Regions from separate parts of the Homo sapiens genome. Here all the other regions are linked to region 1. Evidence: promoter capture Hi-C in 16 types of primary human blood cells and fetal thymus (Javierre and others, 2016). All regions are on one chromosome and are shown on one strand. Each heading gives the region's core, a stretch centred on a gene start or on the middle of the fragment in contact. The rest is flanking DNA. Distances are from core to core; before and after follow the strand shown. Region 1 holds the start of FAM98C (family with sequence similarity 98 member C). Region 2 overlaps WDR87 (WD repeat domain 87). Region 3 overlaps LGALS4 (galectin 4). Region 4 has its middle 4.8 kb from the start of LGALS7B.

What was found. The method cuts DNA at HindIII sites, captures the fragments that hold promoters and counts their contacts. A CHiCAGO score of 5 or more calls a contact.
Region 2: a contact is called between a fragment that was not itself captured here and the fragment with the promoter of FAM98C in region 1, in 1 of 17 cell types (total B cells). The highest score is 6.8, in total B cells.
Region 3: a fragment that was not itself captured here is called in contact with the fragment with the promoter of FAM98C in region 1 in 2 of 17 cell types (non-activated CD4 T cells and activated CD4 T cells); the score reaches 5.1 in non-activated CD4 T cells.
Region 4: a contact is called between a fragment that was not itself captured here and the fragment with the promoter of FAM98C in region 1, in 1 of 17 cell types (neutrophils). The highest score is 5.6, in neutrophils.

The regions. Positions count from the first base shown.
Region 1 is chr19:38,401,392-38,404,661 of GRCh38, reverse strand. It overlaps FAM98C (family with sequence similarity 98 member C), which reads right to left and starts at 1,569. Exons shown (of 8, transcript NM_174905.4): 1 at 1,444-1,569; 2 at 1,176-1,324; 3 at 968-1,102. The coding sequence starts at 1,508. RefSeq lists silencers at 1,063-1,262, 1,453-1,782. The HindIII fragment of the contact is 11,725 bases long and covers 1-2,621 here.
Region 2 is chr19:37,893,870-37,897,139 of GRCh38, reverse strand. It overlaps WDR87 (WD repeat domain 87), which reads left to right. Exons shown (of 6, transcript NM_001291088.2): 3 at 832-1,002; 4 at 1,684-3,270. It overlaps LOC105372395 (a long non-coding RNA gene), which reads right to left. Exons shown (of 5, transcript XR_935962.3): 5 at 467-500. LOC107985301 (a long non-coding RNA gene) reads right to left here and starts at 312. Exons shown (of 3, transcript XR_001753935.2): 1 at 285-312. The HindIII fragment of the contact is 3,479 bases long and covers 75-3,270 here.
Region 3 is chr19:38,800,488-38,803,757 of GRCh38, reverse strand. LGALS4 (galectin 4) reads left to right here. Exons shown (of 10, transcript NM_006149.4): 6 at 1-16; 7 at 207-236; 8 at 1,354-1,442; 9 at 1,601-1,766; 10 at 1,848-2,084. The coding sequence ends at 1,994. Among named protein-coding and RNA genes, the nearest start is that of LGALS4, 11 kb to the left of the region's middle. The HindIII fragment of the contact is 4,275 bases long and covers 1-3,270 here.
Region 4 is chr19:38,782,766-38,786,035 of GRCh38, reverse strand. No RefSeq gene overlaps it. Among named protein-coding and RNA genes, the nearest start is that of LGALS7B, 4.8 kb to the left of the region's middle. The HindIII fragment of the contact is 5,003 bases long and covers 1-3,270 here.

The DNA.
Region 1 (3,270 bases), core at 320-2,819:
CTACTCGGGAGGCTGAAGCAGGAAAATCGCTTGAACCAGGAAGTTGGAGGTTGCAGTGAGCTGAGATCATGTCACTGTACTCCAGCCTGGCAACAGGGCGAGACTCCATTTCAAAAAAAAAAGAGGCTCCACCGGCTTTAAAACCTCCACCTTTGCCCAGGCACAGTGGCTCATGCCTGTAGCCTGTAATCCCAACACCTTGGGAGGCTGAGGTGGGAGGATCGCTTGAAGCCAGGAGTTGAAGACCAGACAGGGCAACATAGGGAGACCCCACCTCCACTTAAAAACAAAACAAAACAAAATCCTCCACCTTCTAGTCCCCCCCACCTAAAGCCTTCCAGAGTAAGCCCCACCTTGAGACCCTGTCCCCTCCTACGAATTCCACTCCTGCCCACTTTGAAACCTCAAGCCTTCCTCCTAATCCAACCCACTTGAGCTCCTAGGCCCTCCAATTAAAATTCTAACCCCGGGCCGGGCGTGGTGGGCTCACGCCTGTAATCCCAACACTTTGGGAGGCCGAGGTGGACAGATCACCTGGGGTCAGGAGTTCGAGACCTGCCTGGCTAACATGGTGAAACCCCGTTTCTACTAAAAATAGCCGAGTGTGGTGTCGCGCGCCTGTAATCCCAGCTACTCGGGAGGCTGAGGCAAGAGAATCACTTGAACCTGGGAGGTGGAGGTTGCAGTGAGCCGAGATCACGCCACTGCACTCCAGCTTGGGTAACAAGAGTGAAACTCCATCTCAAAAATAATAATAATAAAATAAATAAAAAATAAAACGAAATTCTACCCCCGCCCATTTTAGAGCGCTCTGCTTGCCCCAACATGCTCACCCCACCCACCTCGTACCCTCTGGGCCGCCCCAAAGTTCTGACCACACCCCTTGGGAACCTCGATTTCCCCTAAAAAGTCAGAGCCCGCCGCTCCGGAGGCCATGGCCTTGCCACTTCTGCATCCCGGGACTCACGCAGCAGGCGCAGTCCGGCACCGGGTTCCCGAAGCGCAGCCGCGCCATCCCCGCCGCAGAGCGCGCGATCCGGGCAGTGCAGCTCCCGCAGCAGGCTGCCGAGCTGCCGCAGAAAGTCCTCCTCCGCGCCAGGGCCTGCGAGGACAGGGGTGTCAGGGCTCGGTGGCCCCGTGGCGGCCCCCCTGCCACCCTCCCGCTCCGTGTTTACCGTCGCCGGCGCTCAGCACCTCCGCGCCCGCCTCTCGCTGCTGCTCGAGGGCGCCCAGCGTCGCCAGCTCCGCCGCCAGCCGCACGCACAGCCCCCTGAAGTCTGGGCATGAGGCGCCCCGCGACGCCGCCCCCGGGACACCTCCATACCTGTGGGGACCGAGGCAGCGGGAGGGGGCGGGGATGTCACTGGGAATCCCTTTTCGTCCGCGTCCAGGGGGCAGACCTGGCCTTCCTGCACCCACCAGCCTCACCGCACACCCTTTTACCCCAGAGCCAGCAGGTCCTGGGCCACCGCGGCCCCCTCCCACGCTTCCGCCTTCACCGCCTCCATGAAAGTGTGGTCTCGGCGCGCCCCCTGGCGGCCGGTGGCAGGCTCCGCCCCAAAAGCGCCGCGCGCACGAGCTCCCCGCAGCGTCCGGCGGCACTGACCAATCGGCATCTTCCCGCGCAGGGGCTTGGGTGCTCCCATTGGCGCAGGAGGACGCCGAACCCGCCCCGGGGCCCGCCCGCCCCGCCCCTCGGCTAACCTGTCGGGGTTGTAGGAACGCCCCCTGGAGCTGTAAATTGCAGTGCGTTCGGGATCTCCGCTGTCAAGACAAGCTGGCGGCGGGTGTCACTGTTGCGGCGACATAAAAACAACTTCGGTGCCATTTTCCTTTTCCTCCCTCAGTTGTCTTCTGCTGGTGTTTTGTTGGTTTGTTTTTGAGGCAGATTTCGCTCTATCGTTCAGGCTGGACTGCAGTGGCGCCATCGCGGCTCACTGCAGTCTCGACCTTCTGGGCTCAAGAGATCCTCCCGCCTCAGCCTCCCAGCTAAATTTTTAAAAATCAGTCAGCCTTGGTGGCTTACACCTAGTAGCTGGGACCACAGGCGCAGACCACCGCGCCTGGCTGATTTGTTTTTAATTTTTTTGTAGAGACAAGGTTTCCTCATGTTGCCCAGCCTGGTTTCCAACTGCTGGGTTCAAGCGATCCGCCTGCCTCGGCCTCCCAAAGTGCTGGAATTACAGGCGTGAGCCACTGCAACCGGCCAATTTTTTTTTTTTTTTAAAGTTTTGTAGAGGCCGGGCACGGTGGCTCACGCATGTAATCCCAGCACTTTGGGAGGCTGAGGTGGGTGGATCACTTGAGGTCAGGAGTTCGAGACCAGCCTGGGCACATGGTGAAACCTCATCTCTAATAAAAATACAAAAATTAGCCGGGCGTGGTGGCACACGCCTGTAGTCACCACTATTTGGGAGGCTGAGGCAGGAGAATTGCTTGAGCCCGGGAGACACAGACTGCAGTGAGCCAAGATCGCGCCACTGCACTCCAGCCTGGGGACAGAGCAAGACTCCGTGTCAAAAAAGAAATAAAGTTTTGTAGAGAGGGGTCTAGCTATGTCGCCCAGGTTTGCCTCTAACTCCAGTGTTCAAGCAATCCTTCCCTCTCAGCCTTCCAAAGCTTGGGATTACAGGCTTGAGCCAGTGTTCCTGGCCCTGTCCTCTGCTCTTAAAGCAGCCCAGACGGAGTGGTGTTCACCCAACTCTGCCTAAAATCCAAAACTTCCTCCCTCCTTTCCACCTCAGGGTTTGAATTACATAAGGGACCCAGGAATCCCAGCACACCCCTCACACACCAGGCCCTCCTCATCGATCACGATGTGCCTGTTAGGCCTTCACTCCTCTCCCTCTTAGGCCTTGGAGTGAGCAGGTGCAATGCACCATAGTGGTTAAGAGATTACACCCTAGGAATCAGGCAAAGGGTTAGGGCTTGATTCTGTTACTCGCCAGCTCCATGTTCCTGCCAAATTGCTTCCCATCTGTATAATGGGGATAATAGTACCTACCTCTTAGAGTTGTTGCTGAGGATTAATTAGAGTTTCATATGTAAAAAGTGCTTAGCAGATATATAGGGAGTACTTAATAAGGAATAACTAATATATATACAGCATTTAATGTGTACTATTGGGCGAAGTATCTTATCTCTTTTACAGAAGAGAAAACTAAGGTTGAGAGAAGATAAGTCACAGAGTGAATTCATGGTGATGCCAAGGCTTGAAGATGAAATTCCAGACTCTATACTCTTAAACCACGGAACCTATTTCCACTGTTA
Region 2 (3,270 bases), core at 565-3,064, 510 kb after region 1:
AAATGCTTGTCCTCTGTCAAATTTAAAGGCCAGATAGGGTGTCCCAAGAGTCTCACTTAGTGCAGCTTTAAGCTTCAGTAACTTAGAGCTGCACTGACTTTGGGAGATTCCGCTATATTCCATGTGTGCGTAAGGTGATGTACTTGCCTGACTATTCTGTTAAATATTGTGTCTTTTATGGTACATGTACCTTCTACACACAAGCGAGAATGTTAGAGGGGGCTGGACTCAGTAGCTCATGCCTGTAATCCCAGCACTTTGGGAGGCCGAGGCGGGCGGATTACCTGAGGTCTGGAGTTCAAGACCAGCGTGGCCAACATGGTGAAACTCCATCTCCACTAAAAATACAAAAAATTAGCAGGGCCTGGTGGCATGTGCCTGTAGTCCCAGCTACTTGAGAGGCTGAAGCAGGAGAATCGCTTGAACCTGGGAGGTAGAGGTTGCAGTGAGCTGAGATCACGCTACTGCATTCCAGCCTGGGCAACAGAAAGAGACTCCATCTAAAAAACAAAACAAAAAAAAGAATGTTAGAGGGCAGGCATGGCTAACTTCATGTTGAAAAGAACATCATTTTTCCCTGTGTTCACACTATGAAATTTGCACACAGAGACTCTGCAGGGTTGTGTTCCCTCATGCATTGGGGGATTTGTTACATGCTTGTGAAGTATAGCTGTGCCACAGGTGATAAGTTATGCACGTGTGAGTGTAACAGGAGTAGGTCCTTCGGGTGGGAAGCATGACTTTGGGAACTGCTCCAACTGTGACTTGTGCGAGAATATATTTAGTGCCTCTGTGCCCTGGCCTCTTAGTTTATGCCACGCCTCTCTCCAGCAACCTTCGGAAGACCCAAAGAACTGCCTGATTGTGCTGAGTGACCGGTCCCAGGTACTGTTCAAAGAGTCTCGCTATCCTCAAAATATGCCGTGTGTATGCTATTACTTCAGTGATGCCCACTTCTTCGCCTCCCTCTCTTGGGTGACATCAAACACAAAAGAAATACAAGTAAGACTGCCTTTCTTACCCTTCTTGGCCCATTCTCCAAGAGCCATGCCCATATAACTGTTAGCCCAGATTGACAAAGGAGGATATTCCCCATGGATGAATGTGGTCTGGAACCAGAAATCTCTCCTCATCCTTTCTCCAATTATAGTCCCCATGTTGAGTAGGTTGTATGGTTCCCCCGAAGTAAACCAAGGTTAGGAAAAGGGTCCTAGGATTCCTGCCTCTACCGTATTTCCAATTCCCATCACCAAGGGATAAAATCACTTGAGTCCTCCAATTCCTCCTTAACATAAAACATGGGGAAATAAGGGAATATTCTGCCCTACCATCAGCTCTAGGCAGTTTCATCTTTTTTTTTTTTTTTTTTTTTTGAGACAGAGTCTCGCTCTGTCACGCAGGCTGGAGTGCAGTGGCGCAATCTTGGCTCACTGCAGCCTTTGCCTCCCAAATTCAAGCGATTCTCCTGCCTCAGCCTCTCGAGTAGCTGGGATTACAGGCACCGACACCACACCCAGCTAATTTTTGTATTTTTAGTAGAGATGGGGTTTCACCATGTTGGCCAGGCTGCTCTCGAACTCCTGACCTCAGGTGATCCACCCGCCTCGGCCTCCCAAAGTGCTGGGATTACAGGCATGAACCACCTCACCCGGCCTAGGCAGTTTCCTTCTTATTCTCTTCTAGGCTGTAGCATGGATGAAGAGCAAAACTGAGGACATGGTTGAGAAAAGAACATTCTCCATGACTGAACGATTGCCACCCATCCAGTCCATGGTCCATGCAGGCTCCTTTCATATCCTCGTGGTCTACTGTGGTGACCTGATCCTGCGACTCTTTGGGGACCACTTTCGGGCATTCAAACCCCTGGGTAAAGTGCCCTGCCGCTTCAACATCAGCTGCCTCTGCTATGACCCGGAAATGAAGATGCTTCTGTCTGGCATCCTGGGGGCAGTGGTGACCTGGGTCATTGAGCTAGGTGGCACGGGCCTCCAAATAGCCCACATGGTCTCCATGCCAGGTGATGAGCTTGTCCAGGACATCGTGCTGAATGGTCCCAGTGGCTCCCTCCTGGCCCTGTGTGAGACGGTGGTGAGGGTCCTTATGCACCAGGGCAAGGGCCAGCTGGGAGAGGTAAAGAGGTTCACGTCCACCAGCAGCGGCTCCTCCATCACCTGCTGCTTCACCTGTTTTGATCAGGGCTTTCTCTATGCTGGAAACCAAGCTGGGGAAATCCAAGTTTGGAGCCTCCAGCAGGGCCATCCACTCCACAGTTTCCAGGCCCATCAATCAGGAGTGATCTGTATCCGCAGCCGACCAGAGGCCCACACCCTGCTAACAGCTGGTAGTGACAGCCTAATCAAGGAGTGGAACCTGACTTCAGGGAGCCTGCTTCGGCGGCTAGAGCTTGGTGAGGAGCTATACCGGCTCCAGTTTATTGACAGCATTACTTTCTTCTGCCAAACTGCCCATAGTTTTTCCTTGCACCGCCTGCCCTGCTTCTACAGCCTCTTCAATGTCTGTGGCTCTGCTCCCCAGCAGTTGCGTCGGGTCTGCTGTGGAAATAACTGGTTCCGGATCCTGTGTACCACTGAGGATGGCTTGTTGCGCTTTGTGTCCCCAGTAACAGGGGACCTTCTGGTTATCACCTGGCCCTTCTCAATCCTGGACCAGGCTGTGGATTGGGCCTACGACCCAGGTAAAGAGGAGCTCTTTGTAGCAACAGGCAGCTCAGAGGTTCTGGTATTTGACACAACCCGCTGCCCTTGCCCAGCCAAGTATCTCTTAGGCACCTCACCAAATTCTCAGGACTTTGTACAATGCCTGGCTTATGGGCATTTCAACTTGGGGCGGGGTCTAGAGGGACTGATATTCTCTGGGCACCAGAGTGGTGTGATAAGAGTGCTCTCCCAGCACAGCTGTGCTCGATTAGAAAAATTCATGCACTTTGGCGCTGTACTGGCACTCTCCACGCTGTCTGGAGGGATTTTTGGTGGCCAAGGAAACTCTCTGCTCTGTTCCTATGGAATGGATGACTATGTGCACCTGTCAGAAGCTGTGCTTGATGGGGTCAAAGTACAACTGCGGCCTCTCGCCAGCATTCTCAGCAGCTGTCACCTAACACATCTGATACTCTTGCCCAAGTCTGTGGGTGCCATCACAGAGACAAACTGCCTGCGTCTCTGGAAGTTCCATGATTTTCTGTCCTCTGGGTCACAGAATGGCTTGAAATTCATAGAAACACTGCCTCTGCACCTGTGTGCCATCACATCC
Region 3 (3,270 bases), core at 545-3,044, 400 kb before region 1:
GCTGAACAGCCTGCCCGTGAGTGGGAGGGCTGGGAGGGCCCCGGGTGAGGAGTGGGAATGGTGAGAATTGGGGTAGGGGGAGCTAAGAGGGGTTGCAGCCCAAGGTGTACTAACCCAGCACCTAGAGAAACGCCGGAGTCTAATGGGTGTGTCATAGATATCTGTCGACTCTTGGAGAATAATATCGCTTCTTCCTCACTTCACAGACCATGGAAGGACCCCCAACCTTCAACCCGGTATGGCTTGGGGAAACAGAGATGGATGGTGGGGAGGGGGCACGGATCTCCAGGGAATCTGAGACAGCCAGAAAGGGAGTGGGCTGAGGGTTTTGGGGTGGGAGGTAGGGGAAGGGTAGATAGAGTTCGTGGTCAGGTTTAGGGAGCAGAAGGAATTGGGGATGTTTTCCAGGAGGAGTGGGACCTCTCAGAAAATTTGTTCTTGGGCTGGACATGGTGGCTCACGCCTGTAATCCCAGCACTTTGGGATGCCAAGGCGGACAGATCACGAGGTCAGGAGATCGATCGAGACCATCCTGGCCAGCATAGTGAAACTCTGTCTCTACTAAAAATACAAAAATTAGCTGGGCATGGTGGCGCGCGCCTGTAATCCCAGCTACTCAGGAAGCTGAGGCAGGAGAATCGCTTGAACCAGGGAGTCGGAGGTTGCAGTGAGCCGGGATCGTGCCACAGTACTCCAACCTGGTGACAGAACGAGACTCCATCTCAAAAAAAAAAAAAAAAAAAAAAAAAGAAAAAGAAAAGAAAAAGAAAATTTATTCTTGGCCAGACACGGTGGCTCATGCCTATAATCCCAGCCCTTTGGGAGGCCAAGGCAGGTGGATCACTTGAGGTCAAGAGTTCCAGATCAGCCTGGTCAACATGATGAATCCCCGTCTCTACTAAAATGACAAAAGTTAGCCAGGTGTGGTGGCGCACACCTGTAATCCCAGCTACTAGGAAGGCTGAGGCAGCAGAATTGCTTGAACCTAGGAGGCAGAGGTTGCAGTGAGCTGAGATTATGCCACTACACTCCAGCCTGGGCGTCAGAGGGAGACTCTGCCTAAAAAAAAAAACAAAATTTGTTCCTTTGTTCCTGCAAGGCTGGGCGTGGTGGCTCACGCCTGTAATCCCAGCACTTCGGGAGGCTGAGATGGGAGGATTGCTTGAGCCCAGCAGTTTGAGGCTGCAGTGAGGCTTGATCATGCCACTGCACTCCAGCCTGGGTGACAGAGTAAGACCCCATCTCTTATAAGAAAAAAAGACAGGAAAGAAAAGAAAAGAAAAAGAAAATTTCTTCCCACATCTGGCTCTGCTAAGCTGAGAGAGAATGGGACCCCCCGTTCTCTTCCCACAGCCTGTGCCATATTTCGGGAGGCTGCAAGGAGGGCTCACAGCTCGAAGAACCATCATCATCAAGGGCTATGTGCCTCCCACAGGCAAGAGGTATAACGTAAACTAGGTGGGAACCCCCAGCCCCCTCCTCCCTCAGACCCAACAATCTAGACCCTCTGTCCCCTCCTCCTTTAGGGATTCAGAGGTCCAGCCCACTGGCCTCTTCCCACTGGACTCCATCTGACTCCCCCATCCCTCTCTGTCCCCAGCTTTGCTATCAACTTCAAGGTGGGCTCCTCAGGGGACATAGCTCTGCACATTAATCCCCGCATGGGCAACGGTACCGTGGTCCGGAACAGCCTTCTGAATGGCTCGTGGGGATCCGAGGAGAAGAAGATCACCCACAACCCATTTGGTCCCGGACAGTTCTTTGATGTGAGTCTGAGCTCTCTTTTCCCACTTCCTTCCAGGGCCTCAGTCCTGGCCCTGGCCTCATGCCCACCCTTCTCCCTGCAGCTGTCCATTCGCTGTGGCTTGGATCGCTTCAAGGTTTACGCCAATGGCCAGCACCTCTTTGACTTTGCCCATCGCCTCTCGGCCTTCCAGAGGGTGGACACATTGGAAATCCAGGGTGATGTCACCTTGTCCTATGTCCAGATCTAATCTATTCCTGGGGCCATAACTCATGGGAAAACAGAATTATCCCCTAGGACTCCTTTCTAAGCCCCTAATAAAATGTCTGAGGGTGTCTCATGAGTGTGTGTCTCCATCTGCTCCCCGGCTACTCTTCCCTTCCTTGGTTCAGTCATGCACTTCATCTATCCTTCATCCATCCAGTCATCTGACCATCCATCCTCCTGTCATCATAAATCTGGTTATGCCCCAAGCACTGATTTAGGGCTCATTCACTTCTCACAGCAACCCCAAGAGGTAGAAACAATTATTATCATCCCTCTGTAACAGATGAGGAAACAAAGGAAAATAAAACAAATTGCCCAAATTATACATTGCATAAATGGCAGAAGGAGGATTCAAATCCAGCTGATCTGGCTCCCAAGGATCTGCACACTTAACCACTATACAGCCTGTCGTTCCATCCATCCATGCATCCATCTCTCCACTCGTGTATCCCAACATCCATCAATCTCTCCATGTATCCAACCAAAAGTCCATCCAACCATCCATCAATCAAACATCCAACCATCTAGACCTCATCAATCCATCCATTGAGCTGATTGTTCAACCATCCTTTCATCCAACCCTTTATCCATCTACCCATCCATTTACCTCTGCACTCATCATCTCATCGTCAATCTCTCCAAACATCCAGTCAACCATATGTTCACCCATTCATCCAAACATGCAACTATTCATCTACTCACCAGTCTGTCTAGCTCTATCCAGCTGTTTATCCATCCATTCTTTCATTCAACCTTTTATCCATCACCCATGCATCTGATCATCCATCATCTTCTCCATCCATCCAAACATCTAACCATATACCAGTCTATCTGTCTATTCATTCAGCCATCCTTACGAAGTCTAACTTTCGTCCATCCATTCATTTATTCATCCCTCCATTTGTCCATGTAATTCTCTGCTTTCCATCACAGTCATCCATTTGTCCTCCATATGCCCATTCATCCCTCCATTCAGCAATTCATCACTTTTCCATCTCTTTCTATCCAATTATCCATTCATCTCTTCATTATCTATTTTTTTCCAACCCTTTTCCAACTCAAGCTGGAAAGTTATCCATTCATTTATATTTTCTTCTCTCCATCTGTCCACCCAACCATGCTTTCATCAAATCACTCTTTTGCTGATTTCATCATTCATTGATTTCTTGTTTTTATTTTTATTTATTTTTTTTTTGAGACAGAGTTTTGCTCTTGTCATCCAGGCTGGAGTGCAATGGTGCTGTCTCAGGTCACTGCAA
Region 4 (3,270 bases), core at 549-3,048, 380 kb before region 1:
TGATTACAGGCCTGGCCACGGTAATATTTGTGTGTCTTTTTTCGGTTTTAAATAACTAATGTGTTTATTTCCCAATTGTTATTTCATTGAGGTATTTTTCCCATTAAATAAAAGGTTCAGATTTTGTTGTTGTTGTTGTTGTTTTGAGACAGGGTCTTGTTCTGTCGCCCAGGCTGGAGTGCAGTGGTATGATCTCAACTTACTGCAACCTCTGCCTCCCAGATTCAAGTGATCCTCCCACCTCATCCTCCTGAGTGGCTGGGACTACAGGAGTGTGCCACCACACCTGCCTAATTTTTGTATTATTTTGTACTGATGGGGTTTCGCCATGTTGTCCAGGCTGTTCTCAAACTCCTGGACTCAAGTGATCCACCTGCTTTGGCCTCCCAAAGTGCTGGGATTATAGGTGTGAGCCCCTGCTCAGGGTTCAGATTTTAATGGAATAGTTCAATGAGTTTTGACACATATAGTCACCTGTGTAACCACCTCCCCAATCAAGTTTCCTGGTGCCCCTAGAAACAGTCACTGCTCCTTCTGCCACATGAAGCCACTGTCACTCCTGAGCAGTTAGTAGCCACAAAGTTTCCTTTGATCCATTGTGGTGGCATGTGCCTGTAGTCCCAGCTACTCGGGAGGCTAGGGCAGGAGGATCACCTGAGCCCTGGAGGTGGAGGCTACAGTGACCCAAGATCACACCACTGCACTCCAGCCTGGGTAACAAGGCGGGCGGATCACCTGAGGTCAGGAGTTTGAGACCAGCCTGGCCAATGCGACAGCGTGGCGCCTGCCTGTAGTCCCAGCTACTGGGGAGGATGAGGCAAGAGAATCACTTGAACCTGGGAGGCGGAGGCTGCAGTGAGTTAAGATCGCACCTCTGCACTCAAGACTGGGTGACAGAGCGAGACTCGGTCTCAAAAAAGAAAAAAAAGGCCAGGCGCGGTGGCTTACACCTGTAATCCCAGCACTTTGGGAGGCCGAGGCGGGCGGATCACGAGGTCAGGAGATCGAGACCATCCTGGCTAATACGGTGAAACCCCGTCTCTACTAAAAATACAAAAAATTAGCCAGGCGTGGTGGCGGGCACCTGTAGTCCCAGCTACTCAGGAGGCTGAGGCAGGAGAATGGCATGAACCTGGGAGGTGGAGCTTGCAGTGAGCCAAGATCGCGCCACTGCACTCCAGCCTGGGCAACAGAGCAAGACTCCAAGATTCCGTCTCAAAAAAAGAAAAGAAAAGAAAAGAAAAATAAGTTCATTTGCCGTGAAAATGAGAAAGTGGGTTGGGACAGACTGATTTTTCTGATTTTAGGCCTCTTTCAGGATATAACTTAGTTGAAAAGTAACTAATCGCACACTAAGTGTTTGTAGGGATTTAAAACCCCAGGTTCTGTCAGTGCCATTTTGTTAGTGATATTTTGAGTTATTGTTTTTTGTTTTATTTTTGATTTTTTTTTAGTGATTGCTTCACTGTGGCTGGATGTAACTTCACATGTAGCCAACATACTGCAAGTCCCAATGTGCCTTTGCTGATTGGCCAAGGGTTTGCACATTAACTCTGTTATCAGCCCGAAGTCCTGACTCATTTCTGATAACAGATCTACGTCCTTGATGGGTTCTTTTTTTTTTTTCTTTTGAGATGGAGTCTCACTCTGTTGCCCAGGCTGGAGTGCAGTGGCTCAATCTCAGCTCTGCCTCCTGGGTTCAAGCGATTCTCTTGCCTTGGCCTACTTAGTAGCTGGGATTACAAGCATGCACCACCACTCTTGGCTGATTTTTGTATTTTTAGTAGAGATGGGGTTTCACCATGTTGGCCAGGCTGGTCTCGAACTCCTGACCTCAAGTGATCCACCCACCTCAGCTTTCAAAAGTGCTGGGATTACAGATGTGAACTACTGTGCCTAGCCAAGGGTCTGGCTATGTTGCCCAGGCTAGTCTGGAACCTGGGCTTAAGTGATCCTCCAACTTCTGGCCTCCCAAAGTACTGGGATTACAGGTGTGAGCCACCATGCCCTGTGGTTTTGGTTATTTTTTAAACACAGTGAAGATACTTCAGGGACTCCTTTGGTTTTATATATTAACATTCCAGTGATGAAAATGATACAGGTAAAAATCTTTTTAGTGAATTCTAACTGTTCCCACAGTTAAAGACATTTACCCACTATGTAACTAATTATATCTTTCCAAGTAATTTGGTAACCACCACTGAAGATTGGCTTACTCAGCTTCTAACTCACTCCCCAGCGGGCCCACCTTTTTTTTTTTTTTTTTTTTTTTTTTTTTGAGACAGGGCCTTAATCTATTGCCCAGGCAAGATCATCATGCACTGCAGCCTCAACCTCCTGGGCTGAAGCAATCCTCCTGCCTCAGCCGCCAAAGTGGCTGGGACTACAGGCATGTGACACCACCCCCAGTTAATTTTTTTTTTATTTTATTTTAGTAGAGCTGATGCCTCACTATGTGGCCCAGGCTGGTCTCAAACTCTGGAACTCAAGTATCCTCCTGCCTTGGCCTCCCAAAGTGCTGGGATTACAGGCGTGAACCTCCGCACCCAGCCTGGCCTGCTTTCTTGCATTAGGCAGTTAAAAACTACATTTCCCAGAGTTATTTGTAGCTAGATTCACATAGGACTGGGTTTCCCCAAGCTGAGTTTGCACCCCTGGAAAACTCTTTTTTTGAAGACATGCCCTCGTGGCCAGGTACTGTGGCTCACACCTGTAATCCTAGCACTTTGGAGGCTGAGGTGGGCAGTTTGCCTGAGCTCCAGAGTTCAAGACCAGCCTGGGCAACATGGCAAAACCCCGTCTCTACTAAAATACAAAAAATTAGCCTGGCATGGTGGCACGCACCTGTAATCCCAGCTACTGGGTAGGCTGAGGCACAAGAATCACTTGAATCCAGAAGGTGGAGGTTGCAGTGAGCAGAATTTGTGCCACTGCACTCCAGGCTGGGTGACAGAGCAAGACTGTCCAAAAAGAAAGAGAGAGAGAAGGAAGGAAGGAAGGGAGGGAGGGAGGGAGAGAGGGAGGGAAGGAGGGAAGAGAGAGAGAGATGAAAGAAAGAAAGAAAGAAAGAAAAAGAAAGAAAGAAGGAAAGAAAGAAAGAAAGAAAGAAAGAAGAAAGAAAGAAAGAAAGAAAGAAAGAAAGAAAGAAAGAAAGAAAGAAAGAAAGAAAGAAAGAAAGAAAGAGAAAGCCAGCCAGCCAAGAAAGAAGTGGTCTTGCTCTGTGGTTTTGCCCTGTCACCCAGCCTGGAGTGCAGTGGCACCATCATAGCC